7 separate regions of the Homo sapiens genome follow, and all the other regions are linked to region 1. Evidence: promoter capture Hi-C in 16 types of primary human blood cells and fetal thymus (Javierre and others, 2016). All regions are on one chromosome and are shown on one strand. Each heading gives the region's core, a stretch centred on a gene start or on the middle of the fragment in contact. The rest is flanking DNA. Distances are from core to core; before and after follow the strand shown. Region 1 holds the start of CCDC171 (coiled-coil domain containing 171). Region 2 has its middle 200 kb from the start of FREM1. Region 3 overlaps LOC124902123 (a long non-coding RNA gene). Region 4 overlaps TTC39B (tetratricopeptide repeat domain 39B). Region 5 overlaps TTC39B (tetratricopeptide repeat domain 39B). Region 6 overlaps TTC39B (tetratricopeptide repeat domain 39B). Region 7 overlaps TTC39B (tetratricopeptide repeat domain 39B).

Region 1 (3,718 bases), core at 520-3,019:
CAATCTCGGCTCACTGCAAGCTCCACCACCCGGGTTCACGCCATTCTCCTGCCTCAGCCTCCCGAGTAGCTGGGACTACAGGCGCCCGCCACCACGCCCAGCTAATTTTTTTTGTATTTTTAGTAGAGACAGGGTTTCACCGTGTCAGCCAGGATGGTCTCGGTCCCCTGACCTCATGATCCGCCCACCTCGGCCTCCCAAAGTGCTGGGATTACAGACGTGAGCCACCGCGCCCGGCCAACACAAATGAAATTTTAAGTAGTTCCAGCTACTCAGGAGGCTGAGGCAGGAGGATGGCTTGAGTCCTGAAGGTCTAGGCTGCAGCGAGGCGTGATTGTGCCGCTGTACTCTAGCCTGGGCAACAGAGAACAACCCTGTTTCAAAAAAAAAAAAAAAAAAAAGAAAAAGAAAAAAATAAAATTTAAAAATATTTTTTAAAGCTTGTAACATAAAAGTTCTAATCTCATTAGTCAGTTGTAATTTTCCATTTCATTTCTAAACTTTAGAGTGGGCTATTTTTTCCCTTTATTTCCTCTGGAGCAATTGTCCTCTTTATGGCTCTAGTAAAAAGAATCAGGGACAGGCCTCCGTTTTAGATGTAAATGACTAAAATCAAACCAATTAAGGTTTCAGTGCTACAAGAATCAAGGAGGTTTTAATCTCAATTTGTGTTTGCATTTATGACCGTTGGCTCTCCCATGGGAGAGAGAAAAGACGGCCCCTACACCTGGTTTCAGGTTGATTACAATCAACAAGGACCCAGTTTAGTATAGAAGGCTCGTTTTGCATTAAACACCTTTTTGTGCAGAGGAGGTGGTGGTGGTGAAGATAAAAATCTTTGACCAAATCCTGTCAATTTGCATTGTTCTCTGGAAGAATAGGCTTTCAAAAGTTAAGGAACAAAAGAGGAGTTGGTTTTCCAGTCTCCCTTAGGCGGCAGCAGATTGTGAAGCAGCCACCGGGAGGAACCAAAGTATAAATTATCAATAAGAGGACGGTGTGTGTGTGTGTGTGTGTGTGTGTGTGTGTGTGTGTGTGTGTGTCAGAGAAAAGTGAGAGAAGCGAGGAAAGAGATAGGGAACACACATGCTAAGGCTCCGAGGCGTTTTCCACGATGTGCCTGGTTACGTAATGTTGATAATGAAACGCACTGCAAGCAGCATCAATGCATTCTTCCGACCCTGCTCACCACTCCCAGCTGGGATACAATGGGGACGGGAAGAGGGGACAGGATGCCCTGTGCAGGCAGAGAGCTGTCCAGACAGAGGTAAACCAGGCAGTTGGGCAGAACCCGAGCCCAGAGAATTTCTCCCCAGGCCCCGGGACCAGCCCACCGTTGCTGTGGCTCTAAAGATGGGCAGAAGAACCAGTTTCAAAAAGCAGGATCTGGGATCCGACCTCTTAGGTTTTTATTCAGCAGGCAGGGAAAAGGGGTTAGAAGCTGGAAATCTGCATTTCCACTCGGCTCTGGCGACTGAGACAGGAACGCGGACACCTCACGCTGAAAAGCCACAGCAGCGCGTGGGCAGGGCGCACCCCCGCGCGGGGACGCGGAGCTCCTGGAGCGAGAGCGCGTGCGGTCGCGAGCCCGCCGCTCCCCAGCAACGGCGCATGCGCCCGTTCGTCCCTCAGCGAAGGCGCGCTGCTTGGCGGGCGGGCTCTTCCAATCCGAGCCAGCGTTCTCGGAGTACGTATCCAGGAGCTGCAAGCTGAGGGCTGCGGGAGGCGGGAGGAAAAAGTGGGGCCGGGCCTGAGTTGGGCTGACCTGTGAAAGTCTGGGAAGGTCTGCGAGAGAAGCGGAGTGTTTTCAGCTCCGGAAGTGGCAGTTGTAAACTTCACCTCCCGGGGGCTCTTCCCCTTCTGTACCCCTTTGCTGTTTGTCCCCCTCCTCCCGGGTCCTGGAGTCCGTCGTGTTCCAACAGTTTTTGCTCTTATTCCCGTGGGCTGCCTGGGCCTCCTTTCACCCGTGAGACTTGGAGCGGCCCCTGGGGTCTTGGGTGTGCAGCACGGATCACGCGAGACCCCTGAGGTAACCGCACGGTGTGGGGGCTTCGAGGCGGACGACTTGGGAGGGAGGTGTTGAGAGGGTTGTAGGGGCCCCTGAGTGAGTTTGGGGCGGCCCTGGGGCTGTTGGCGTAGGCTTTGGGGCACGCCTCCAGCTCCCTGGGCTGGGTCTCCCCGCCCACCTGGAGGAAGATCTCCGTGGAGCATCCTAGCCAGAGATCGCTGAGGCTGTACCAGAGCGCCGGATGGGGACCAGAGGGGAGGCAGAGGACCGGGATTTGGAGCTTCTTAGGGTTACTGCTGCGGAGCGCTTTCGTTCCCGAGAATCAGTAAGCCCCTCGAGGATAGGGACCACGTCTTTCAGCCCGCTCTCCCCTTTTTAAATGCCGGCCACACACTAGACACTCTACAGATGTTTGATAAACGGGAATGAGTTGTGCTAGACTGTCACCTGCAGCTTCTACCTACCCTCCAGGACTCTGAGAGACTTAGAATCTGAGTCAGCTGTGCGTTTTCCCGAAGCTGTAAATTTTCTGCAGAAATGGAGCCGACTTTTTGAATTTTTTTATTCCATTATGATATTGATCCTAAGAAAATACATATTTCATGTATACATTTTAGGTAAATGAGATAAATACGTCTTTATTTTGTTTATTAGAGTTGGTGTCCAGCTCTTTTGAATACATGACATACCGATGTTTTATGGTTTTCATAATATTGGAGAAAAGAACATACGATTTTGTCACTTTTTTTTTTTTTTGAGATGGAGTCTTGCTCTGTCACCCAGGCTGGAGTGCAGTGGCGCGATCTCGGCTCACTGCAAGCTCCGCCTCCCGGGTTCACGCCATTCTCCTGTCTCAGCCTCCCCAGCAGCCGGGACAACCGGCGCACGCCGCCACGCCCGGCTAATTTTTTTGTATTTTTAGTGGAGACGGGGTTTCACTGTGTTAGCCAGGATGGTCTCGATCTCCTGACATCGTGATCCGCCCGCCTCGGCCTCCCAAAGTGCTGGGATTACAGGCGTGAGCCACTGCGCCCGGCATGTCACTTATTTTATTTAACTGTTAGTTCCTACTCTCAACAAAACAGTGGTAGAGCAGAAGATGAACATGGTTTTTCATAAAATGCAGAGGAAACAAAGGCAGTGCAACCTGCTAAGAGGAAAGATGAAGGGCATAGTCTTAGTTTGTAGCTTTCTGTGTTAGTCTTGGGGCTCAGCCATTTATGAGCTGCGTCCCCACAGGCAAACCACCTAACCTTCCTAGGCGTTAGGTTCTTTATCTGTCAGATAAGGAGGAAGGACTTAGTCTCTAAAGTCTCATTTGATTCTAAAACGTTTTGGTTGTCTCAGTCCCTTGGTCTTGGTCTTGTTTTGATGTAAGAACCAAACTTCCCCTTTAAAGGTTGATTATGTACCTATGCTGAGAAACACTTCCAACACAGGTGTGGTTACTAATGAAGACAGCACTGCGTAGTGAAAGAGGATGGACTTAGCCAGATGTGGATTTGAATTCTCATTTTCCGGCTGAATATTTTTACACAAATTATTCAACATCTCCAAGCCTCAGTTTTCTTATCTGTGAAATGTGCATAATCTCATAGAGATGTTGGGATTAAATGAGATCAGGAATGCTGATCTCAGTATCTGGCATATAGTAAGTGGCTCAATAATAGGAATTTCTATTTTTTCATCCACCCATCCCTCGTTTTTCCT
Region 2 (3,718 bases), core at 730-3,229, 450 kb before region 1:
AAACTGAGTATTTTTTCTTGATGTGTTTCATTACCTCTTTTTCAACACTGCATGGTGTTCTAAATGTTATAGCCCTTCCACTGATTTTAGCTTCCACATAAAATGATCAGGAATCAGAATCCTTCACCAAGTTCATACAAATTCAGACCCAGATAATTTTAAGACAGCTTAATAGGTGTACTTCCATCTAGAGTACGAATTCTTCCACATCTCTGTCAATTGATTTCTCTGTCTCAGCTTAAATACTTCCGAAGATGGGAATCTCTCCAACCTATGCTATATTCTGATGATACCTTTGACATTTTGCTTTTTGATAGAACACGGTCTATCTCCTTAGATATTTCCTTTTAGGAGACATTCATTTCCTCCAATAAGCTGCTGACTAAAGAGGTGCTCTTCAAATCTCCCTTAGCACAGATGTCACCTTGATCTTGTGATCACCTGGATAGAGCTATAGGCAGCCTGATACATTCTCAGATCCACTGAAGCAGATCCTTCAGAATCCCCACTTCCTGGATATCAAATGAATCAGAGTTCTTTGCAGGTTTTTCTAGAAGCTTCCCCTATGAACTGCTAGAAAAATTGCCTACTTCTCCAGCTGTTCTCATTCTCCCTGGATTGAAAATTCTTTTCTACCTACTTGGTTCCACTCTCTAGGAGCCAAAGCCTCTTCACTATAGATTCCATGGAGAAACACTGATGCTCAATATTTTTTATCTTAATTCATGTAGTAGACATAGAGGCACTGTTTTTTAGCTGTAGTCAATATGACTTGATAATCACCTAGTGTTTTGATTCCTAAATGTCTGCAGAAGAAATAGGTGTCAGAGTGATGTTAGCAAGATGATGGACTAGGAAGCTACAGGCCCTTCTTTCCCCTACAGAGACACCAAGTTAACAACAGTATATGGACCAGAATGCCCCTGTGAGAACTCCAGAGACCAGGTGAGATGCTATAGCACCCAGGCCATTGTAAAATGAAGAAAGGATTCCAGAAAAGGGGTAGAAAGCCTTATGGCAGTTGGTGCACCAGTTCATGCTTCTGCACATTCACAGTATAGTATGGAGAAATTGGGAGGAAATCTTCAAACTGAGGGTCCTTCCTCAGAACAGAAACAAAAGAGCAGACTTTGCACTCAAAGTTCTGGCATGTAGGGGGGCTGTCTGAGAGTCTGGTTTTGCTTGACTTAGAGCAGAGGCAGGATCAGACGCTGCTGAAAACAAAGTCTAGCAGCACATTAGATGTGCAGTTCTACAGGCAGATGCCAGGGGGAGCAAGAGATCAGAAAAGGTTTGAAAGGTGCTTGAACAGATAAGTAGACTGACTGGTGACGGGTTCCACCTGAACAAATCCAGTATGCAGACTGTTAGAGGTGGGTGCTTTTTCAAATGCCCAAATCCCAGCCAAAAAAGAAAAAAATTTACAAGATGTACAAAGAAACACGGAAACATAACCCAATCAAAGGAGCAAACTAAAACTACATAAACCAACCCTAAAGAAATGCAGATGTATGAGTTATTTGACAAACAATTTAAAATAACTGTCATAAAGATACTCAATAAACTAAAAGAGAACAGATAGACAACTAAATGAAATCAGAAAAACAACATATGAACAAAATGTGAATATCAAACAGAGATAGAAGCTATACGAAGAACAAAACAACAATTCAGCAGTTGTATGTCAATAAATTGGATAACCTAAAAGAAATGGATAAATTCCTAGAAACACACACCCTACCTAGACTGAATCATGAAGACATAGAAAATCTGAAGAGATCAGAAACTTGTAAATTATTGAAACAGTAATCAAAAATCTCTCCACAAAGAAAAGCCCAGGACCAGATGACTTCACTGGAGAACTCTACCAAACATTTAAAGAAGAATTCAAGTCAATTTCAAGAGAATTCACATCAATTCTGAAACTCTTCCAAAAAATTAAAGAGGAACACTTCTAAGCTCATTCTATTAGGCTCTGATACCAAAACCAGACAAAGAAATTACAAGAAAAGAAAACTACAAACCAGTATCCCTAATAAATATTGATGTAAAAATCCTCAAGAAAATACTAGCAAACTGTTCAACAGCACATTAAAAGGATTATATGCCATGACCAAGTGGGACTTATTCATGAAAAGCAAGGAGAGTTTTGCATACAAAATTTAATCAATGTAATATACCACAATAACAGAATGGAAGACAAAAATGACATCATCATCTCAATTGATAGAGAAAAAACATTTGACAAGATTCAACACCCTTTCATGATAAAAATCATTCAATAAACCTGGACAGGAAGGAAACTACCTCAACATAAGAAAAGCCATTTATGAGGCCAGGCACAGTGGCTCATGCCTCTAATCCCAATGCTTTGAGAAGCCGAGGCGTGTGGATCACTTGAGGTCAGGAGTTCGAGACCAGCCTGGCCAACATGGTGAAACCCATCTCTACTAAAAATACAAAATTAGCAGGCGTGGTGGTGCACACCTATAGTCCCAGCTACTCAGGGGGCTGAAGCAGGAGAATCACTTGAACCTGGGAGGCAGAGGTTGCAGAGAGCTGAGATCCTGCCACCGTACTCCAGCCTGGTCAACAAAGCAAGACTCTGTCTCAAAAAAATAAAATAATAATAAAAGCCACTTATGAAAAGCCTACAGCTAACATTACACTCAATGGTGAAAGACTGAAAGCTCTTCTTCTAAGATAAGGAAAAAGGCTTAATAACTGCTCTCCCCACTCCTATTCAACATAGTATTGGAAGTCATAGCCAGAACAATTAAACAAGAACAGAACAATTAGGAAAGAAAAAGAAATACAGACGGGTGCAGTGGCTCACGCCTGTAATCCTAGCACTTAGGGAGGCCGAGGCAGGCGGATCACGAGGTCAGGAGTTGGAGACCAGCCTGACCAACATGGTGAAACCCCGTCTCTACTAAAAATACAAAAATTAGCCAGGCGTGGTGGCATATGTCTGTAATCCCAGCTACTCAGGAGGCTGAGGCAGGAGAATTGCTTGAACCCAGGAGGCAGAGGTTGCAGTGAACCGAGATCATGCTATAGTACTCCAGGCTGGGTGACAGAGCGAGACTCTGTCTCAAAAAAAAAAATAGATAAATAAAGAAATACAAGAAATCCAAATTGGAAAGGTGTTAAAATTATCACTGTTCACAGATGACACGATTTTATATGTAAAAAACTCTAAAGATTTCGCACCAAAAGAAACCTTGTTAGAATTAATAAATTCAGTATAAATTGCAGGATACAAAATTGACACAAAAAAACCCATTGTATTTCTATATACTAACAATGGACAATCTGAAAAGGAAATTAAGAAAACGATTCCATTTATAATAATATCAAAAAGAATAAAATGCTTGGGAATAACCTAACCAAGGAAGTGAGAAGCTTATACATTGAAAACTAGAAAATATCACTATTACTAAATGAAATTAAAGTTGACACAAATAAATGGAAAGGCTCCCAGTGTTTGGGGATTGGAAGATTTAATATTGTTAAGATGGACATACTACCCAAAAGCAATCTACAGATTCAAAGCAATTCTTATCAAAAAATACAACAGCATTTTTTGTAGCAATAAAAAAATTCATCTTAAATCATCTTAAAATCAATATGGAATCTCAGGGGATCCCAAAAAGCCAACACAATTTTGAAAAAGGAGGAGATATTTGGAGGACTCATACTTTTGATTTCAAAACAT
Region 3 (3,718 bases), core at 845-3,344, 400 kb before region 1:
CATCTTCCACTCCGTCTATTCACCTTGCTCTGTGAAACCATTCTGCCCAGCCACTGTCCTGGTGAGGCAACTGCCTCCACTTGCAACCTTCCCCTCTCTATGCTAAGGCCGAGTCCTGTGTTAAACCCATAAGAATCTTTTAGATTTCTTTTCTGTCTATTCTCTGTGGCCCTCCCAGAAGGCAACACAACCTGAGGTCCCCAGCAGAGGCAAGTCCACGAAAGGACTTCTGACACCAGCAATCCACGGGTTCATTCAACACATACTGAAGGTCTATGTTTTGCCAAGGCTGTTTGCAAGAGACCACAAAATTTCTGAAAGTCCCTGCATCAGCAAATGATTGATATAAAGGTAATCCTGCAGGGTACCAAAAGGTAGCCAAATTGTCCTTTCCAATCAACTTTCCATTGACATTTGAAAAAGGAAAAGAGGGTTGGGCACAGTGGCTCACGCCTGTAATCCCAGCACTTTGGGAGGCCATGGTGAGCAGATCATGAAGTTAGGAGTTCGAGACCAGCCTGGCCAACATGGCAAAACTCCGTCTTTACTAGGGATACAAAAATTAGCTCGGCATGGTGGCGGGCACCTGTAATCCCAGCTACTCGGGAGGTTGAGGCAGGAGAATCACTTGAACCCAGGAGGCGGAGGTTGCTCCAGCCTGGGCAACAAGAGCAAGACTCCATCTCAAAAAAAAAAAAGGAAAAGAGGACGTCAGTGTTTTGCCCCTGCTGCAGCATGCCAAGTTGTCTGGAGTACAGCAGAAAGCTTGGCAAAGTGGATTGAAGCACTTGCCTGAGCCTGCTGCTCCTGCAGCTCCAAAACCAAATGGGAGATTTTCAGTGGGGCAGACCCCTCTCATGGACGAACTTCACACAGGTGGAAGACAAGGTGGGAAAGTGGGAAAGCGGGAAAGCTCATTCAATCTTGAAACAATCAGAATATTTCTGCACAAGGCAAAGAGACTTGTCCTTTGTGTGCTGTGTGTGCATACAAGAACACACACACATATATACACTGCCTTGGTAGTCTTGGGGGAAAGCAATCTCTCGTGGTGCCTTGGAACTTCAAGCAAATGCTACCTGGTGCTGTGGATTTTGCCCTTTGGCCAACAGACTGTCTTCTGAATTGGTTCAAGTCTACGTAGGGTTTAGTATACAAAAAAAAAACAAAGATATTTTATTGGTTAAAGTGCAGTGAGTGGAATTTCATTTAATTATTAGTGAAACTGGTTTTTTTAGTACTTTTTTTGTATTGGTCTGCTCCAATAAAGCCTAGCCACTCTACATAAGTGCTCTGACTACCCCCAGTCAGCCTCACTCAGAAGGAGCCTTTCTCTGGCCTTCCCCTGGGGCATCTGGAAACAACAGACTCTGGTCCACGCTATTATATGATCTGCCCAAAGTCCCACCAGCAGCATTGTTATCCCTCCTGAGCAGATGGGGCTGACAGTGCCCACCTCTGAGGTTTGCAGCGTGACAGCCACCCTCCCCAGACAGATCTCCACAATGCAGTTCTTGGCCTTGAAGCATGAGTGCCGGGACCTTAATTCCCTCCTTTTTCCCTTTCCCCACTCAGTCAAAGGGTGGAGGTAAATGGCTATAAAGCTTGTTTTCTTGCACTTATATCTAATAAGCTGGGTTCTCTGAATTAGGCCTACTTAGAAAAGAAGTTTTAGAACTTAGACACCTATGCCCACTGGAAATGCACAGAAAATGTTGCATGAGGGCCTTTCCCCAAACTAAAGAATGGAATGTCCTATTGGCAGACTTTCTACTCTTTTCTTAATATTTCATTTTTGGTATCTGTGTTTCTTCCATTAATTGCCATTTTCATCCTTTTAATTTTGTATAATTGCCTACCATTTAAAACCCTTCCTATTTCAGTAGGTGCCCGGTCATTGATACTCAACATTATTTGAACAATTTGGTATAACAAAACAAATAAAATATACCATAGAGAAGAAAAAAGTGTACATTTGCTTGGAATAACAACAAAAATGACATCCATTGCAATCATCAATCGTCCACATTACACACGAACTGAGGTCTGAACCCAGAGACTTCAGAATGGGATGAAAGGCCTAGGAGGTTCCCAGCTTTCCTTCTATCTATCATTCTCAGCCAGTGAAGACTGAAAGCACGACATACCTTCCTGAGTTTGCCAAGGAAAAGTCCAACAGAATCTCCTTTGGTCATTTGAAATCCTGTTTTAAGGCTAAACAAACGTCCAAGCCACAAACCAGGATAAAGAAGCACAACCTCAATGACTGTCCCAGGTGACAGCTTGGAAGCCCAACCTGAGTTTAATCTCCAGCTCAAATGTGAATTACCTGTGTTGTTTTATTGCAACACATCCAACAAAGATAGGGAACAACGCAGCCTTAGCCTCATCTCCAGGTCCTTCCCAAAAAGGGGCTACTGTCAGAAGAGCTGAAAGTGGCTGGAAAGCTAGAGACTGTTAGCAGCATCCATAAGAGAGTCAACAAAAGGCTGTAACAAGAGGCCAGTTGGTGGCTGGCTGGCTGCTAGAGGCCACGTGGAGGAAGAAATTTGCTGGCCTTGGAATAGGAGTCTTTTCCTTTGGACTAAGCTTTAAAGAGTCTTCCTTTGGAGAGCAGAAGATTGCTCAAATAAAGAAAGAAACCAGCTTTATTAAAAAAAAAAAAAAACAGGTGAGAAAGGAACAAGATGAAATCAAATCTATTATGCTTCCTAAGATTTTGGAAGACTTCCAGGGACCAATGTTAGGGAAAATGAAAATTGAGCATCAAATGTTAATGGAAAAATCACTATCGGGGATGTGGAAAAATAAAGTTAATCTGGAAGGAAAAATGGAACAAATGTTGAATGTGTGGGCTTCCCAGTGGCTTGTATAAGAGCCACGAAAATGGATTTTAAGTATAGAAGATTCTGTTGACCTGGTATTGACTTGTTGCTCCATGACCAAATGGGGGACACAGGGTTTTAGCATCAGTTATTGAGATTTTGTGCTCCCTCAGTCCCCTCATTCGCCCCAACAATATCGCCCAAGAATGATTATCCAGCCAAGGATTATTTTGATAATCAAAATCATGGACACTTACTATTTTTTGTGTGTTTGTGTAAACTAAGTCTAGGGACACAGAGCTCATCTAGGAAGATGAGGAGGAGGGCATCCTAAAGGTACATGGTAGTGCTCCAATCTGCAATACCGTCCCTCCCCGCACCCTCACGCCATCTCACTTTCTGCTTAGACAGCAATAACAGGTGCCTCTCCACCTCGTCCTCCCCATTCCCCGAAAAAAGATTTGTAGAATTTAAGATGTGAAAAGCTGGGAACCACTGCACTAAACCACACTGTATCCAGTACTCCATACACAGATTGCCAAATGGCTGAAGAACAAGGTCTAGCCCTTAAAACGAATGAAGCTGGATGGCTAAAAGAGCATTGCAACAGAAATCTTTGTTCTACAAATGAACTGAACCTACCCAGACGGTCCTAACCATAAGGCCTATGGCATCCTTTCTAAGAGCCACAGTTTTGTTGACAAGGAACACCATGCTGCTATTTTTAAAGGAAGCATTCATCTTTCTGACAGCTAGTCAGTAAGTCACCTTTTGTGGTCAAACTTTGCGTGATTTGGCCTTAGGAAGCTCACCTGGGCGAGAAAGGGTAGGGGAAGAATGTGTCCTTCTTCCTACTGGATAAAAGCTATGCATAAATCTCAGACAAAAATTAG
Region 4 (3,718 bases), core at 487-2,986, 380 kb before region 1:
TCTCCATTAAGGAAAAAAAAAAGGCAATTATGCCAGGAACTACATGAATTGCACTGTCAGACACAATGGCAACCCAACCCCATCATAAATGCCCCTCAAAAAACTAGATAAAACTGTCACTTCAGTATTCATTCTTCACAGAACACCCTAATGACTCCAAAATGCAATATTAGCTGATGCCCAAGAAGTTGGTGCCACTACAATATCTTGAACATAGCAGGAAACATAAATATTTGTAGCATTTTGATATTACAGTACTAAAAGATCCACTGGATATACTGTCCATAGTATCAGGTAACTGCATAAAGAATAGGAAACAAAAATAAAACAAAATATAAATAACAAAAAAGATTTTTAAATGGAGATGAATTTCTTTTATATTTGTTTAGTAATGCAGAGTTAAAATAAAAATGGCCACTCTAAGCTTAAAACTGTTTCATTTTATCCCCAAAAGAGAATTTGTTACTGACTTGCAGCACTGACTTGCAGCTTCTCACAGTAACAATGTAAGAATATATGCTCAGTATACCCACAGTCACAATGTGAGTGTGCGCTTTCAAAAATAATGTTACCAAAGCTCTTCTAAGAGCTTTTTTCCAAAAAGCTTTTTTTGGAAAACTTTTTTCCAAAGCTATACACAAATAATTTTTAATGTATTTTCCACTACTAATTATAATGACAGTTAATTTTATTTTCTATTTTGTCTGTACCTAAAGTTGTATTACTAATAACACATTGATATCTACCGCCATTGATATCTATCTTTCATTGGATATACATCCTCAGTGTTGGTCAAGAATCAGTACCTTGAAGAAAACAAGCCACACACTGCTTGATACAGGTCCATGTGGCAGGGAACGGCAGGAGCAGGTTCATATAACCTGGGTAGCCTACTGTCAACATCAAACACATGAATACACAGTAAGGTATTTGAATTTCTACACTTCTTTCATTTTACAACACAAACCACAGTATCAGCCAATACTTTTGTGTTGATACTGTAATCCAGACATAAAAAACCATAATTATTATAATAATTCATACTTTTGTATAGCCTTTTACAGTTTACAAAAAGCTATCATATGTTTTATCTAATTGAGCCCTCACAAGTACCAAATACCACACCGCTATCCATAGTGGGGCAACTGAACCCCTGAAAAGCTGAGCTACGTACTCCGTGTCATGGAACTATTAACCCACAGAGATGAACTCGTGACTCCCAATATGTGGCTCCTTCTGTTAAACTGCAGAGGCTTCTATGACAAGTTATTCTTCAAAATGGAAATAGAAATAAGGCCCAGATTCATCAACTCATAAATTGTCTTTTCTCACTCTGGATGCCACAACACATACATGTGGGGAGTTGGGGGCAATGATGATGATTGAAAAATAAAACACTCCAAGTGGGAATGGTTTGCATTCGACATTTTAAAGTCATTTGTTGAAAATAAATACCTAATACATAGACTCACAGTTATAAAACTGAAAAAGACCTTGAAAGTCATCTGTTCTTTAATCTTGATTTCACAGAAGAAAATGTGGTGACACACAGGGCACAGTGGACTCCCTAAAGGTCTCCTCACTAATCGCTAATGGGTAGCAGAACCAGGACCATATGGAGTGTCAAGCTCTCTTCTGCTCTATGCCCTGATTCTGTTTCCCAACTAAAGGACTAAGCAAGGTCCAGATTATCTACAAGGAGACATCACAGTGCTAGAGAGATTAGAAAACTAGGTCTTACCAACATCTTAAGTGTAAAAATTATTGATATTTTACATATCATTTAAAGCAGCAGGAAATTTACTTCCTAGAAGAAAAATAATCCATGTATGTATTTTAGGCTCTCATTGCTAAGGTTAAGAAAAATTCCTAAAATATGACACTTCCTTCCCTTTAGATACACAGGGGTTTTGAATTTTGTTATTATAATAGACTTAAGTACATTCAAAATCAGTCTCTCCAAAACGTCACCACCTTTAATCAAATGAAGAGTAAAAAACCACTAACTGAATACTGCATCATCCTTTATAGAGAAAGGTCTCTTCAACCCATGAAGTACATTATATCGATCCGTGTTCATGTTCTCAGACTGTCTTTTTCAGAAGTCTTCTGAAGGTCACTGTTAAGCTATTTTAAATGCAATGATATTTATTTATCTTCTGAAATTTAAATACAGGCAACAAAATATCTCTGAAGTTTAACTACCCAACAAATCCAAAATTGGCTCAACTTGTAAGCTATTTGCTAAACAATATTAATTTTCACATTAAAAAAATAAATAATCTAATTAGACTATTGCATCTGCAAGTCTTTCAAAAGACTTCTTCGCCCCCTAATTCAAATAATATGAAATTCTTTTGGGGGAGGCAAAATATAAGAATTTTCTAGATAATATAGAATGCCATTCCATAGGAAAAAAAATTATGTAGACCAACAGTAAATCTCTCAGATGATAGAAAATATTGACCAAAAAAACTGTTTTTTTGTCTCTTATTCACAAGATCATTTTTCCACTTTAATATAAGGTTGAATCTATAGCAGATGCCGATGCTAATTGAGGAAAAATTCCATCCTTCAAGTTCTGATCAATCTGAGGAAGGTTTTCTCCAGAGGTGAAGAGCTGCCTGAATTCTGAAGTGTAGTCTGGACTCCAGGGAGTAATCTTTGTAGTTGTTCCTGAAGACAATAACAATAAAATTGTACAGTCAAAATTTCCTTATATACCAGGTACCACCACTCTCCCATTCCTCTCTCTGATCTACTTACTTACTTTCAAACTCTAATATACATAACCGTAGATCTTAGTAAAATGCAGATTCTGGTTCTGTTGGGGGGTTTTGGGGGGAACTGCAATAATCTGCATTTCTAGAAGCTTCCTGGTGGTCATCTAAAGGTCATACTTTGAGTAGCAAGGTTCTGCTTAATTACCAAATCATTCACAAGCATAGCAAGAAGTTGTGAGAAGGGCTGTACAAATTTTGTGAACTAGTCCTAAATAATTAGACTTCCTTTTTTAAATTGGAAAATTTTAAGGTAGGTGCATATAAACATGGTTAGCATGATCACATGATCGATCACTCAAGAAACTCAAATGAAACAACTGCAACAAAGGCAGCAGAATTACTTAATGACGTCAAAATTACTTATTCCAATTCTCACATGTAAATATCAATGGTTTGGCCAATAATTACATAAGAATTAGGCCAATGTCTTTAAAGGGGGCCATAGAAATCCAAAGATTATTTAAAACCTGCCTAAGAGCATTTATGTTGACCTCCCTTTACCAGAATTGTTAAGAATCAGAAAAATGGAATACTTTTACATACTGCCTTGGCCCATGGGTGAGCTATAACTGCTTTCTTTACAGTGGCACTTATTTCTATAGCCCTTCATTTTGAACAGGTATAAGGGCTACTCACTGGTAATCTTGATGTGGGTTAGTAAAATGTATTATTCATAAACTAAAATCAATATGTTACTGGAGTTTACCGACAGATGGAATTGAGTATTTTCCTAAATGCCACCAATGTGGGCAACTTTGCAAAGCTCCTAATGCATAAAGGGAAAGTGCAGATAATAGTCTTGGAATTACTGGGAAGTATCTTTATGTTTGAATTGTCAGTATTGTCTTGAGTTAGTGGAGGCTTTTCATTGCTTTTTAGCAGTGAGTTACTAGTCTTTTATTTTTATCTTATAAAGTTGCCTTATTATACATTGT
Region 5 (3,718 bases), core at 366-2,865, 360 kb before region 1:
ATTTTGCCAAGATAAAATGATGAATGTTTATTTGGTCAGCTCAATCAATTTCTTCTGATTTCTGATTTTATGCCATAGTTAAAAGGCCTTTGAAACTGACATCATGTACCTAATGATATCATTTCTAAGGTATTTTTGCCATAGAGTCATAATCTGAATTTAATCATGAAGAAACATTAGAAAAGTCCATATTGAAAGATGTTTTACTAAATAATTGGCCAGTTTATTCTTTTAAAATGTCAACATCATTAAAGACAAAGACTGAGGAACTATTCCGAATGAAAAGAGACTAAGGAGACATGACAGCTAACCTCGATATCCAGGATCCCGGGTTGGATCCTGAGCCAGAAAAAGGGCATTGATGAGACAACTGGAGAAATGTGAGTAAAGGCCATGGAGTAAATATGAATACTGTATCCATGTCAGTTTCCTCATTTTAATAATTGTACTGTGCTTCTGCAAAATATTAATATTTGTAAATCTGAGTGACGATTTACAATCTTCCATACAAGTGATGGAAATTTTTTGTAATAATTTTCAAATTATTTCAAAGTGAAAAAATAAAAAACAAAAAAGTTTAAAGCCTTTATATTTAAGAATTATAAAAGTACTTTCTTATGTTTCCTGCTAGAATTCTTTTTAAATCTTTTAATATTAAACCTATATGGACTTTTTTCGTCTTAATGATTTTTCTATAAAATGAACAATTTTCCCAAAAACATTTACTAAAGTACCTATCTTTCTTCACTGTTTTGAAAGGGCCTATCTATATAAAGGAATTTAGTATATTTTGAATTCCCAGGTAAGTATGTGCGTGTGTGTGTAAGTCCATGTGTGTGCACACACACACATGCTGTCTCTTTCAAAAAACCCTGTGGTTCATTTCACTGATATGTAAAGGCATACCTTGTTTTACTGCAATTTGTGGATACTGCATTTTTTACAAATTGAAGATTTGTGGCAACTCTGTGTTGAGCAAGTCTATCGATGCCATTTTTCCAACAATATGTGCTCACTTTGTGTTTCAGGGTCACATTTCAGTAATTCTCATAAAATTTCCAAACTTTTTAGTTATTACTGTATCTGTTAATGGTGACCTGTGATGGGAGATCTTAAATGTTACTATTACAGTAATTGTTTCAGGGTGCCCTGAACCACACCCATATAAGAGCGAAAGTTATCAATAAATGTTGTGTGTGTTCTGACTGCTCTACTGATAGGCTGTTCCTCCATCTCTCTCCTCCTCAGGCCTCCCTATTCCCTCAGACAAAACAAAATTGAAATTAGGCCAGTTGGTAACTCTACAGTGGCCTCTCAGTGTTCAAGCGAAAGGAAGATTCGCACCTCTCATTTGAAATCAAAAACTAGAAATAATTAAGCGTAGTGAGGAAGGCATGTCAAAAGCCAAGACAGGCTGGAAGCTAGGCCTCTTGTGCCAAACAGTTAGTCAACTTGTAAGTGCAAAAGAAAAGTTCTTGAAGAAAATTAAAAGTGCTACTTCAGTGAATGCACAAATGATAAGAAAACAAAACAGCCCTGTTGCTGATATGGAGAAAGCTGTAGTGGTCTGGATAGAACAAACCACCCACAACACTCCCTTAAGCCAAAGCCTAATCCAGAACAAGACCCTAACTCTTAAACTCTATAAAGGCTGAGAGAGGTGAGGAAGCTGAAGAAAAAAATGTTGGAAGCTAACAGAGGTTGTTTCATGAATTTAAGGAAAGACACCATCTCTATAACAAAAAAGTGCAGCCGGGCACGGTGGCTCACACCTGTAATCTTAGCACTTTGGGTGGCCAAGGTGGGCGGATCATGAGGTCAGGAGTTTGAGACCAGCCTGGCCAAGCATGGTGAAACCTTGCCTCTACTAAAAATACAAAAATTAGCCAGGCACGGTGGCGCACACCTGTAGCCTCAGCTACTCGGGAGGCTGAGGCAGGAGAATCACTTGAACCTGGGAGACGCAGGTTGCAGTGAGCTGAGATCGTGCCACTGCACTCCAGCCTGGGTGACAAAGGGAGACTCCATCTCCAAAAAAAAAAAAAAAAAAAAAAAGTGCTAAGTGAAGCTGCAAGTGCTTATGTAGAAGCTGTAGCAAGTTATCCAGAATATCTAGCTAAGATCACTGACGAAGGTGGCTGCACTAAACAACAAATTTTCAATGTAGACAAAATGGCCTTCTATTGGAAGAAGATGCTATCTAGAACTTTCATATCTAGAGAGGAGAAGTCAACGCCTGGCTTCAAAACTTCAAAGGTCAGGCTGACTCTTGTTAGGGACTAATGGAACTGGTGACTTTAAATGGAAGCCAATGTTCACTTACCATTCCAAATATCCTAAGGCCCTTAACAATTGTCCTAAATCTACTCTGCCAGTGCTCTATAATTAAAACAACAAAGCCTGGATGATAGCACATCTATTCACAGCATGGTTTACTAAATATTTTCAGCCTACTGTTGAGATCCACTGCTCAGGGAAAAAAACATTTATTTCAAAGTATTATTGCTCACTGAAAATGCACCTAGTCACCTAAGAGTTCTGAAAGAGATGTATGCAAGGATTATATTGTTTTCATGCCTACTAACACAACATCCATTCTGCAGCCCATGGATCAAGAAGTAATTTTGACCTTCAAGTCTTATTATTTAAGAAGTACATTTTATAAGGCTATTGCTGCCATAGTGATTCCTCTAATGGATCCAGGGAAAGGAAACAGAAAACCTTCTGGAAAGGATTCATCATTCTACCTATCATAGAGAACATTCGTGATTCATGGAAGGAAGTCAAAATGTCCACATTAACAGGAGTTTGGAAGAAGTTGATTTCAACCCTCATGGATCATTCTGAGGGGTTCAAGACTTCAGTGGAGAAAGTAACTACAGAGGTGTTAGAAACAGAAAGAGAACTAGAATTAGAAGTGGAGCCTGAAGATGAGACTGACTGCTGCCATCTCATGATGACACTTTAATGGATGAGGAGTTGCCTCTTATGGATGAGCAAGAAAGCAGTTTCTTGAGATGAAATCTATTCCCGGTAAAGATGCCACAAACATTGTTGAAATGACAACAAAGGATTTGGAATATTAAATAAACTTAGCTGATAAAGCAGCAGCAAGATTTGAGAGCATGGATCTAACTCTGAAAGAAGTTCTCCTGTGGGTAAAGTGCCATCAAGTGGTATTGCATGCTATAGAAAAATCTTTTATGAAAGGAAAAGTCAATAGGTATGGCAAACTTCACTGCTGTCCTTTTGTAAAAAATTGCCATAGCCACCCCAACCTTCAGCAACCACCACCCTGAATGTCAGCAGCCATCAACATGGATGCAAGACCTCCACCAACAAAAAGATTATGACTTGCTGAAGGCTGAGATAATTGTTAGCATTTTTTAGCAAAAAAGTGTTTATCAATTAAGGTATGTATATTTTTTAGACATAATGGTATTGGCAGACTTAACAGAATACAGTACAGTATCAACGTAACTTTTATATGCAGCAGGAAACCAAAAAGTTTGTGTGACTCACTTTATTGCAATAGTCACTTTATTGTAGTGGCCTGGAACCCAAAATATCTCTGAGGTATACCTGTATGTCTTTGCCTCTACAGTCCTATTTTAATCCTTTAGTATTTTTAGGTTTTGATGACTAAAACAGCAATTAGCATTGAATTTAACATTCGTTTATACCTTCTAAAAATATTTCACAAAGAAATCTATACAAC
Region 6 (3,718 bases), core at 549-3,048, 340 kb before region 1:
CACACACCAATGAAAACTAACCTCCAAAGTACCTTCCCTTATCCCTATAACTAAAATCAGTATTTGTGGTAAAATTCTCCACAGGTTAAAAATGAAGTTAAAGTGCAATATTTGGAAGCTCTCTTCATTTGAGGAGCTTACAACACAATTACATCAGGATGTAATTTCACCCATGTTAACCTTCTGATCATGAACCTTCTGCCCTAGTCCTATGGGGGGCACATCAAGCAATTGACAGCAACAGGGGTCATTTCCTCCCATCCATCTGATCAGGGTGCTGCAGCCAGCCATTCCTGGATTCTTGAATATTCCTAAATGTCCACAAACCAAGCATCTTCCATACTGTGAAACACCTATCATTTTTTAAAAGATATCAAAATAACTTACCCCTTGAAAAAAATTTTGATAGGGTCTTCCTATACACACAAAGTAAAGCTTAAAATAAAACTAAAAATCTATCTCATTTTCACCAAACAAAAGTGTTCAAAAACAGGTCCTTCTTAAACAAATAAAACATTCCCTCATGAATTTGCATCTCCCACTTAAAACAAGAATGTTCCTTGTGTGGCTTGGTTTGGCATGCAGTACCTAATGTCATCTACATTGAGAGATGCTTGCTGCTAATCCCACTGAAATCCCCCCGAAATCCCCCCCAGATCTCTGTAGCTCAGACCCCAGGCTATCAAAAAGAAAAGTGGAATATGTAGATGCCAAATGGGAATCCTTCAGCTTCGAGGCTGAATTTCTTTTCTGTAACTGTGGCCAATTTCAAACACAGAGCTTTTGGTCAGGCAAATGACATTATTTTTGTCACACAGGCATAAAAGTTTGCAGTCACATCTTAAGTATTTAATGACTCGTCATACTTTTGGCAGGTTTGTAAAGCGTCCTTCATGGCAGAAATGCCGTTCTGGATGTCCTGTTGCTCGAAGGTCAGGACAGCCTGCAACACCACAATGGTACTGTAGCCCAAGGCATGGTACATACTCTCCTTAGCCCTGGGAAGAACACAGGGAATTCAGACATTTTAATTCAATGGAAATACTGATCATAAGAAATCCTAGTAAATGCATGTCCTGACTTGCACAGTAACCTTTATTCCTTCACCATAATCACTGAAATTATATGGGTGGTGAAAAGTAACCTCTTAAAAACTCAAGTACCAAGGACTTTCCAATGTAAACCCACACAGGCAGAACAAAATGTTCCAGGTTGAAGGGGACAATATGCATTTCCCTATTTCAACACAAGAGGGCAGCCTGCAGGCAGATTGCAAGCAAACTGTTTTCTGTTGAAAAAGGGGCAGCACACGGCCTTTGGCTCTGAAATAAGTGCTAAAATAAAGGCCGCTGGAAATGTATTTTTTGACAGAGAGATTCTGATATATTTTTTCAAAAATAAAGGCTTATATAAAATAATCCCTCTCCTCGCCAGCCAAAGGCCAAGAGCAAACAAGATTTTGGAATAAGTTAGGCTGGTCACAAGAGCCATGACCAAAGTAGTTGTCAGACCTTGTATCTAGTCTAATCCCATTATCTGAAGTTCCTGATTAAAGTTCTTGATATTTCAAATCATCAAGTTACAGTGAGAACTGCTTCAGGATTCTTAAGGATGTTAACTAGAACTAGTCCTAATAGATGGCAGACATCCAGATTCTCGGGCTATGAGAACATCATTTATTTTCTCAAAACTTCTTAAGCTGTATTAATTATTTATAAGGTTTAAAATGGTAATGCATGGTTTTGTTTTTAATTTAAATATTAATGCATAACAGCCTGCTGCCATGCAAAACAAATGCAAGCCACATTATTCTTTGCCTCCATGGAAATAGTCTAAACATCCTTTGGTAATTTGCAGCTTGTCCTGAACATTGAGGGCACTATCTGTTCAAAAGAACCACAAGGAATCAGAGCAGCCCAAAGTTAATCATTAATTGTGGTTTCAAACCTCACATTTTTAACTGAAAGCTCTTTCAAGAAGCAAAAAAAAAAAAAAAAATGATTCAAGTGAGGGAAAAGTATTTTTATTTATTTAATTTTTTTTGAGACAGAGCTTCGCTCTTGTTGCCCAGGCTGAAGTACAATGGCACAATCTCGGCTCACCACAACCTCCGCCTCCCGGGTTCAAGTGATTCTCCTGCCTCGGCTTCCCGAGTAGCTGGGATTACAGGCATGCACCACCATGCCTGGCTAATTTTTTGTATTTTTAGTAGAGACAGGGTTTCTCCCTGTTGGTCAGGCTGGTCTCGAACTCCCGACCTCAGGTGATCCATCTGCCTCGGCCTCCCAAAGTGCTGGGATTACAGGCGTGAGCCATTTAAACACTGAAACATGTACAAAAATCGGAGACTAACCTGACTGAACACAACACTAAATCACCTATTTTCATTCCATGTTATGACCAGCTGTGTGTCAGTGGCAGAGAAAGACTCGTTTGAATAAAAATCAAAGGAGATAATGGATACAAAAATACAGTTAAATGGAAGCAATAACTTCTAGTATTTAATAATAGAGAAATTATAATTAACAATAATTTATCATTATTTCAAAATAGCTAGAAGAGAATAATTATAAATGTTCCTGACACTAAGAACAGATAAATGTTTGAGGTGATGGATAACCCAGTTAACCTGATCGATCACTGAACACTGTATACAGGTAAGGAATTATCACATGTACTCCAAAAATAGGTACAACTATGGCTCATCAATAAAAGCATTTAAAAACCCAAAGAAGACAGGCAAGTAGGCTGAGAAAAGAGAAGGAGAGACTGAGAGAGGGAAAGACAAGCAGACAAAAGGAGGTAGAGACAGGAGACAAAGAAGTCTGAGGGACAGAGGAGGACAGAAGGAAAAAAGCAGAGGACAGGCAAGGTGGAGATTGTGAGGCAAATATTGAAGACAACACTGGAAAATTTCCTTAGACTACAGGGCTTCATTATCGATTTCATCATTTGTTCTTAACCTGTGAAACAATAGCTGACCCATCTTGATTACAGCTATTCTAAATCTTAACACAATTACCATAGCAGCTCCTCAGCAGGTCAATCAATCTCTAAGATTCACATGACCAGAGTCCAGTCACCCTGGTAACCACTCAAAGTAAGGAACGAGATTGCCGACTTTTATGCCCAAGTAATCTTGGAAATTATCATATGAGGTCTAAGCTTCATCTAAGCAAGTGTTTGAGGGCACAATGTACGATTATTCTTGTCAAGACAAAGGCCGAGTAAACAGGCAAGCACAGGTTTTATTGCCACATCTGAAAACTTAACAGGTACTATTAATTGAAATTAAATTGCTTGTTTTTCGAACAAATAGAGAACCCCAATAATAGTCTTCTTATCTTAAATTTCTTAATAGCATTGAGATCAGCATATTCTGGTTTTTCCCCTCCCCATTTCAAAGGAAAATTTTCTCAATAATATTTAAAAGGAACAAACATAAAAACATTTCACTGAAGAAAGCAAAATTGAAGCCTTATAAAACTACTTATAAGATGACAATATCTGAACAAGAGAGATTAAAATATGCAAAACAATCAGAAATTTTCTATTAATTATATTTGAAAACTCAGATTTCTAAATTGAATTTTAAAAGTGACCAAAGTAAAGAGGTCTGAACTAAATTAGCTTATCAATATTCAGATGGGAACAGCTAAATTAATTTACAAGCATGACATCAAAGAATCATCAGAAACATCTGAAAGATATTTTATCT
Region 7 (3,718 bases), core at 906-3,405, 320 kb before region 1:
TAGTTTTACCTGTGTTTTACTTTTTAATATGTTATATTTAATCGTTTATAATTTAAATAAATGGTACAAGATAGTGCTGTGTAATTTTTTCCCTAATCTTTTGCCATGTTTCCCAAGATTGTTTTTAAAAAAACACATCTTTTCCCCCAATGATTTGACATGCCATATATAACACACTAGATATAAACATAAATTTGGTGTGCCAGGTAAATATTATATGTTTCAAAGTGCTAAAATAATTGGGACTGGGCACGCTGGCTCATGCCTGTAATCCCAGCACTTTGGGAGGCTGAGGCAGGCAGATCACTTGAGGTCAGGAGTTTGAGACCAGCCTGGCCAGCATGGTGAAACCCCGTCTCTACTGAAAATACAAAAATTAGCCAGGCGTGGTGGTGGGTGCCTGTAATCCGAGCTACTCAGGAGGCTGAGACAGGAGAATTGCTTGAACCCGGGAGGCGGAGGTTGCAGTGAGCCAAGATTGCACCACTGCATTCCAGCCTGGGTGACAAGAGTGACACTCCATCTCAAAAAATAAAAACAGTAATAATGAATTGGGAGGCCTTCAGCAAAGATGGTTCCTATACGAGCAAATGGAAACTCAACTCACCGTAAACAGTAAAAACAAAACTTAAGCTTAGCCAATCAGAAACCGCCAACTCACCTCTAACTAAGAACTTCCCACTTGTTCCAGTCAAGTATTTTATTTGTCTTGCTTCTTTAAATACTTCATAAGTTTCCCCCTCCCACTCCTTAAGTAGAACACTGAACTGCTTGTGTTCTAATGATATTCAATTCAGGAATCACTTATGCTCAAACAAACTAGTTAAAATATTACTGTGCCTAAATTAATCTGTTAATAAAAGCTAAAATTATTGTATCTTTACCTGGCACAACAGACTTGACTTTAGCAGAATATAATAATTATTAACAAAATAATGTTACATTTTATTCATCTTTTCTGAGGTATAAAAGATTAGATTCAGATTCTTCAAGTTCTTTATGTTTGTATACACATGTACACGAATTCATGGAAATTCTACAGTATTTCTAGATTTATGTTAATATCACAATAAGCATATCATGCCACAAACTAATTTTTTTATTAAACAGGATTTTTTTAGATATAGACATAACCCATTTATTGAAAGTACTGTCTAGTGTTTTAAGAATGCATTTTCTCATTTCATTAATAAGAAATGCTTCAAATACATAAAGTAGAGAAAATACTATTGCAAACACACAAATATAATCTAGAATCCATTTTTGTGTACAGTCTGAGCTACATTTAATTCTTTCCTGCATGGATAAGCAAGAAATAACTCATCTACTTGTTATAAGAGCTTGGAAACAAGGCAAAAGGAAGACTGCATGTCCTCTCAAGGTCACCTTGGAGCACTGTCTGACAGGCCCACCCAAGGAACATTTAATTCCCTAGGGAGTATATATCTTGTTTGGCTTGCTATTTACTATTAAAACCTATACTCTGTAAAATTATGTTAACTTGTAGATTTTTTAATCTGGTAGATATGCAAATAATTTCTGTGTGGTAAGATTATGGTTTTATTACCTTGCCGGAGGTTAACCAGTGTTGTGCATAACAAACCTTATTTCAACACTTTTTCTTTCCTCAGTTCTCCAAATGCTGTTACCAGGTTTACCATCTTGCTGATTTCCTCACTGACATGCGTTGATTCCATAATTATGATACTTTGACATACTGGATTATTCTGCAATCTCTTACACACAGCAATTTTCCATACGTGCTCAGGTCTGTTTCTGGGCATTCTTTTGTTCCATCACATATTTGCCTCTCTCTGCACTAGTCACACCGTTTTTATTATCATGGCTTTCCGAGACCTGTAAGCCAACTGGGGCAAGTTCTCTACTTTATTAAACACTCTTTTTGTGGGGTTGTTATTATTACACCTACATTCTTGTTTATGAATTTCAGAGTTAGTCATTATAATATTACAAGCAAGTCCTGCTGGAGTTTTGACTGGGAATTCATTACATTATTAGGAAATCTACAGAGAATTGTTGTCTTTATAACATTGCATCTTCACATCTTTACACATTTATTCAGGTCTTCTCTTATTTCCTTCAATAAAGGCTTTTAATATCTGAACACTGCACTGATATGCATGTACCCTTGCAAAAGAGCCATGCTAAATCTTTATACTGGAGGCTACGAAAAATAACACACCAAACTTCAATTACAGCTATTAGTACATTGGAATATATGCCCTTATTTTGCCCTATTTTAACGGCTCTAACTTTTAAGTTTTTAAACAGCTTTATTCAGACCTAATTCACAGACCATAAAATTCACCCAATTAATGTTTACAATCAATGGTTTTTAGTATATTCACAGACTATCACCACAATCTAATTTTATAATATTTTGTCACCAAAATGTATCCATATATTAGCAGTCACTCCTCATTCTCCACTCCACCTCCTCTAGTCCTAAACAACCACTAATCTACTTTTTGTGTCTATAGATTTGCCTATTCTGGACATTTCATATCAATGGAATCATAAAAAGTATGGTCTTTATGCTTGGCTTTTTCAGTTAGCATGTTTTCAAGATTCATTCATGTGGTATCATGTAACAGTACTTTATTCCTTTTTATTACCTAATATTATTCCATTGTATAGCTATACCACATTTTGTTAGTCATTTGTTGATAATATATGAATAATTTGCATTTTGTGGCCATTACGAATAATGCTGTTATGAACATTCATGTACAAGTTCTTGGCCAAGGCATGGTGGCTCACTCCTGTAATCCCAGCAGGACTTTGGGAGGCCGAGGAGGGCAGATCACTTGAGGTCAGGAGTTCAAGACCAGCCTGGCCAACATGGCAAAACTCCATCTCTACTAAAAATACAAAAATTAGCCAGGCATGGTGGTGCACACCCGTAATTCCAGCTACTCGGGAGGCTGAGGCAGGAGAATTGCTTGAACCCGGGAGGCGGAGGTTGCAGTGAGCCAAGATTGTGCCACTGCACTCCAGCCTGGGTGACAGAGTGAGACTCCATCTCAGAAAAAAAAAAAAACAAACAAGTTATTGTGTGGACATGTATTTTCATTTCTCTTAATTATATATCTAGCATTGCTATGGAATGCTAAATTATGGTATGTGGAATTGCTACATTATGTGGTAACTTTATGTTTGACATTTTGAAGAACTACTAGACTGTTTTCCAAAGTGGCTGTGTGATTTTTCCGATTTTTTTAATTTTTATTTTTTGTAGAAATGGTGCCTTGCCATCTTGCCCAGGCTGGTCTTGAACTCCTAGGCTCAAGCAATCCTCCTACCCCAGCCTCCCAGAGTGCTTGGATTACCAGCATGAGCCACCATGCCCGGCCAGCTATGTGATTTTATATTCCCACCAATAATGTACTAGATTCCCAATTTCTTAACAGCTTGGCCAATACTTGTTTTTGTCCATGAGATATGGTGGTATCTCACTGTAGTTTTTGGTGTGCATTTGCTTAATGACTAATAATGTTGAGAATCTTTTTTAAGTACTTAATGGCCAATTGTATGTCTTCTTTGGAGTAATGTCTATTCAGATTATTTTCCCATTTTTAATTGAGTTACTTATCTTTTTATTATTCATTTGAATACTGCTCTAATTTTAATCACTAGGTACAACTATTTTCGAGGGTAAAGCTTACAGCTATCTTTGTTTATACTTTTTCTCTCAATC

What was found. The method cuts DNA at HindIII sites, captures the fragments that hold promoters and counts their contacts. A CHiCAGO score of 5 or more calls a contact.
Region 2: a fragment that was not itself captured here is called in contact with the fragment with the promoter of CCDC171 in region 1 in 2 of 17 cell types (M2 macrophages and fetal thymus); the score reaches 5.1 in M2 macrophages.
Region 3: a contact is called between a fragment that was not itself captured here and the fragment with the promoter of CCDC171 in region 1, in 4 of 17 cell types (total CD4 T cells, M2 macrophages, non-activated CD4 T cells and 1 more). The highest score is 8.5, in total CD4 T cells.
Region 4: a fragment that was not itself captured here is called in contact with the fragment with the promoter of CCDC171 in region 1 in 1 of 17 cell types (activated CD4 T cells); the score reaches 5.6 in activated CD4 T cells.
Region 5: a fragment that was not itself captured here is called in contact with the fragment with the promoter of CCDC171 in region 1 in 6 of 17 cell types (non-activated CD4 T cells, activated CD4 T cells, naive CD8 T cells and 3 more); the score reaches 9.0 in non-activated CD4 T cells.
Region 6: a contact is called between a fragment that was not itself captured here and the fragment with the promoter of CCDC171 in region 1, in 12 of 17 cell types (activated CD4 T cells, total CD4 T cells, total CD8 T cells and 9 more). The highest score is 12.2, in activated CD4 T cells.
Region 7: a contact is called between a fragment that was not itself captured here and the fragment with the promoter of CCDC171 in region 1, in 8 of 17 cell types (total B cells, activated CD4 T cells, total CD4 T cells and 5 more). The highest score is 11.4, in total B cells.

The regions. Positions count from the first base shown.
Region 1 is chr9:15,551,274-15,554,991 of GRCh38, forward strand. CCDC171 (coiled-coil domain containing 171) reads left to right here and starts at 1,770. Exons shown (of 26, transcript NM_173550.4): 1 at 1,770-2,029. RefSeq lists enhancers at 1,367-2,012, 1,908-2,077 and silencers at 1,468-1,527, 1,538-1,627. The HindIII fragment of the contact is 6,396 bases long and covers 439-3,718 here.
Region 2 is chr9:15,103,743-15,107,460 of GRCh38, forward strand. No RefSeq gene overlaps it. Among named protein-coding and RNA genes, the nearest start is that of FREM1, 200 kb to the left of the region's middle. The HindIII fragment of the contact is 2,848 bases long and covers 556-3,403 here.
Region 3 is chr9:15,151,465-15,155,182 of GRCh38, forward strand. The region is part of intron 2 of LOC124902123 (a long non-coding RNA gene); the gene reads left to right. Among named protein-coding and RNA genes, the nearest start is that of TTC39B, 150 kb to the right of the region's middle. The HindIII fragment of the contact is 985 bases long and covers 1,603-2,587 here.
Region 4 is chr9:15,169,434-15,173,151 of GRCh38, forward strand. It overlaps TTC39B (tetratricopeptide repeat domain 39B), which reads right to left. Exons shown (of 20, transcript NM_152574.3): 20 at 1-2,676. The coding sequence ends at 2,586. Among named protein-coding and RNA genes, the nearest start is that of TTC39B, 140 kb to the right of the region's middle. The HindIII fragment of the contact is 2,268 bases long and covers 603-2,870 here.
Region 5 is chr9:15,193,639-15,197,356 of GRCh38, forward strand. All of the region lies in intron 8 of TTC39B (tetratricopeptide repeat domain 39B), which reads right to left. Among named protein-coding and RNA genes, the nearest start is that of TTC39B, 110 kb to the right of the region's middle. The HindIII fragment of the contact is 5,285 bases long and covers 1-3,718 here.
Region 6 is chr9:15,210,400-15,214,117 of GRCh38, forward strand. It overlaps TTC39B (tetratricopeptide repeat domain 39B), which reads right to left. Exons shown (of 20, transcript NM_152574.3): 5 at 867-998. Among named protein-coding and RNA genes, the nearest start is that of TTC39B, 95 kb to the right of the region's middle. The HindIII fragment of the contact is 2,730 bases long and covers 434-3,163 here.
Region 7 is chr9:15,227,939-15,231,656 of GRCh38, forward strand. All of the region lies in intron 2 of TTC39B (tetratricopeptide repeat domain 39B), which reads right to left. Among named protein-coding and RNA genes, the nearest start is that of TTC39B, 77 kb to the right of the region's middle. The HindIII fragment of the contact is 3,048 bases long and covers 632-3,679 here.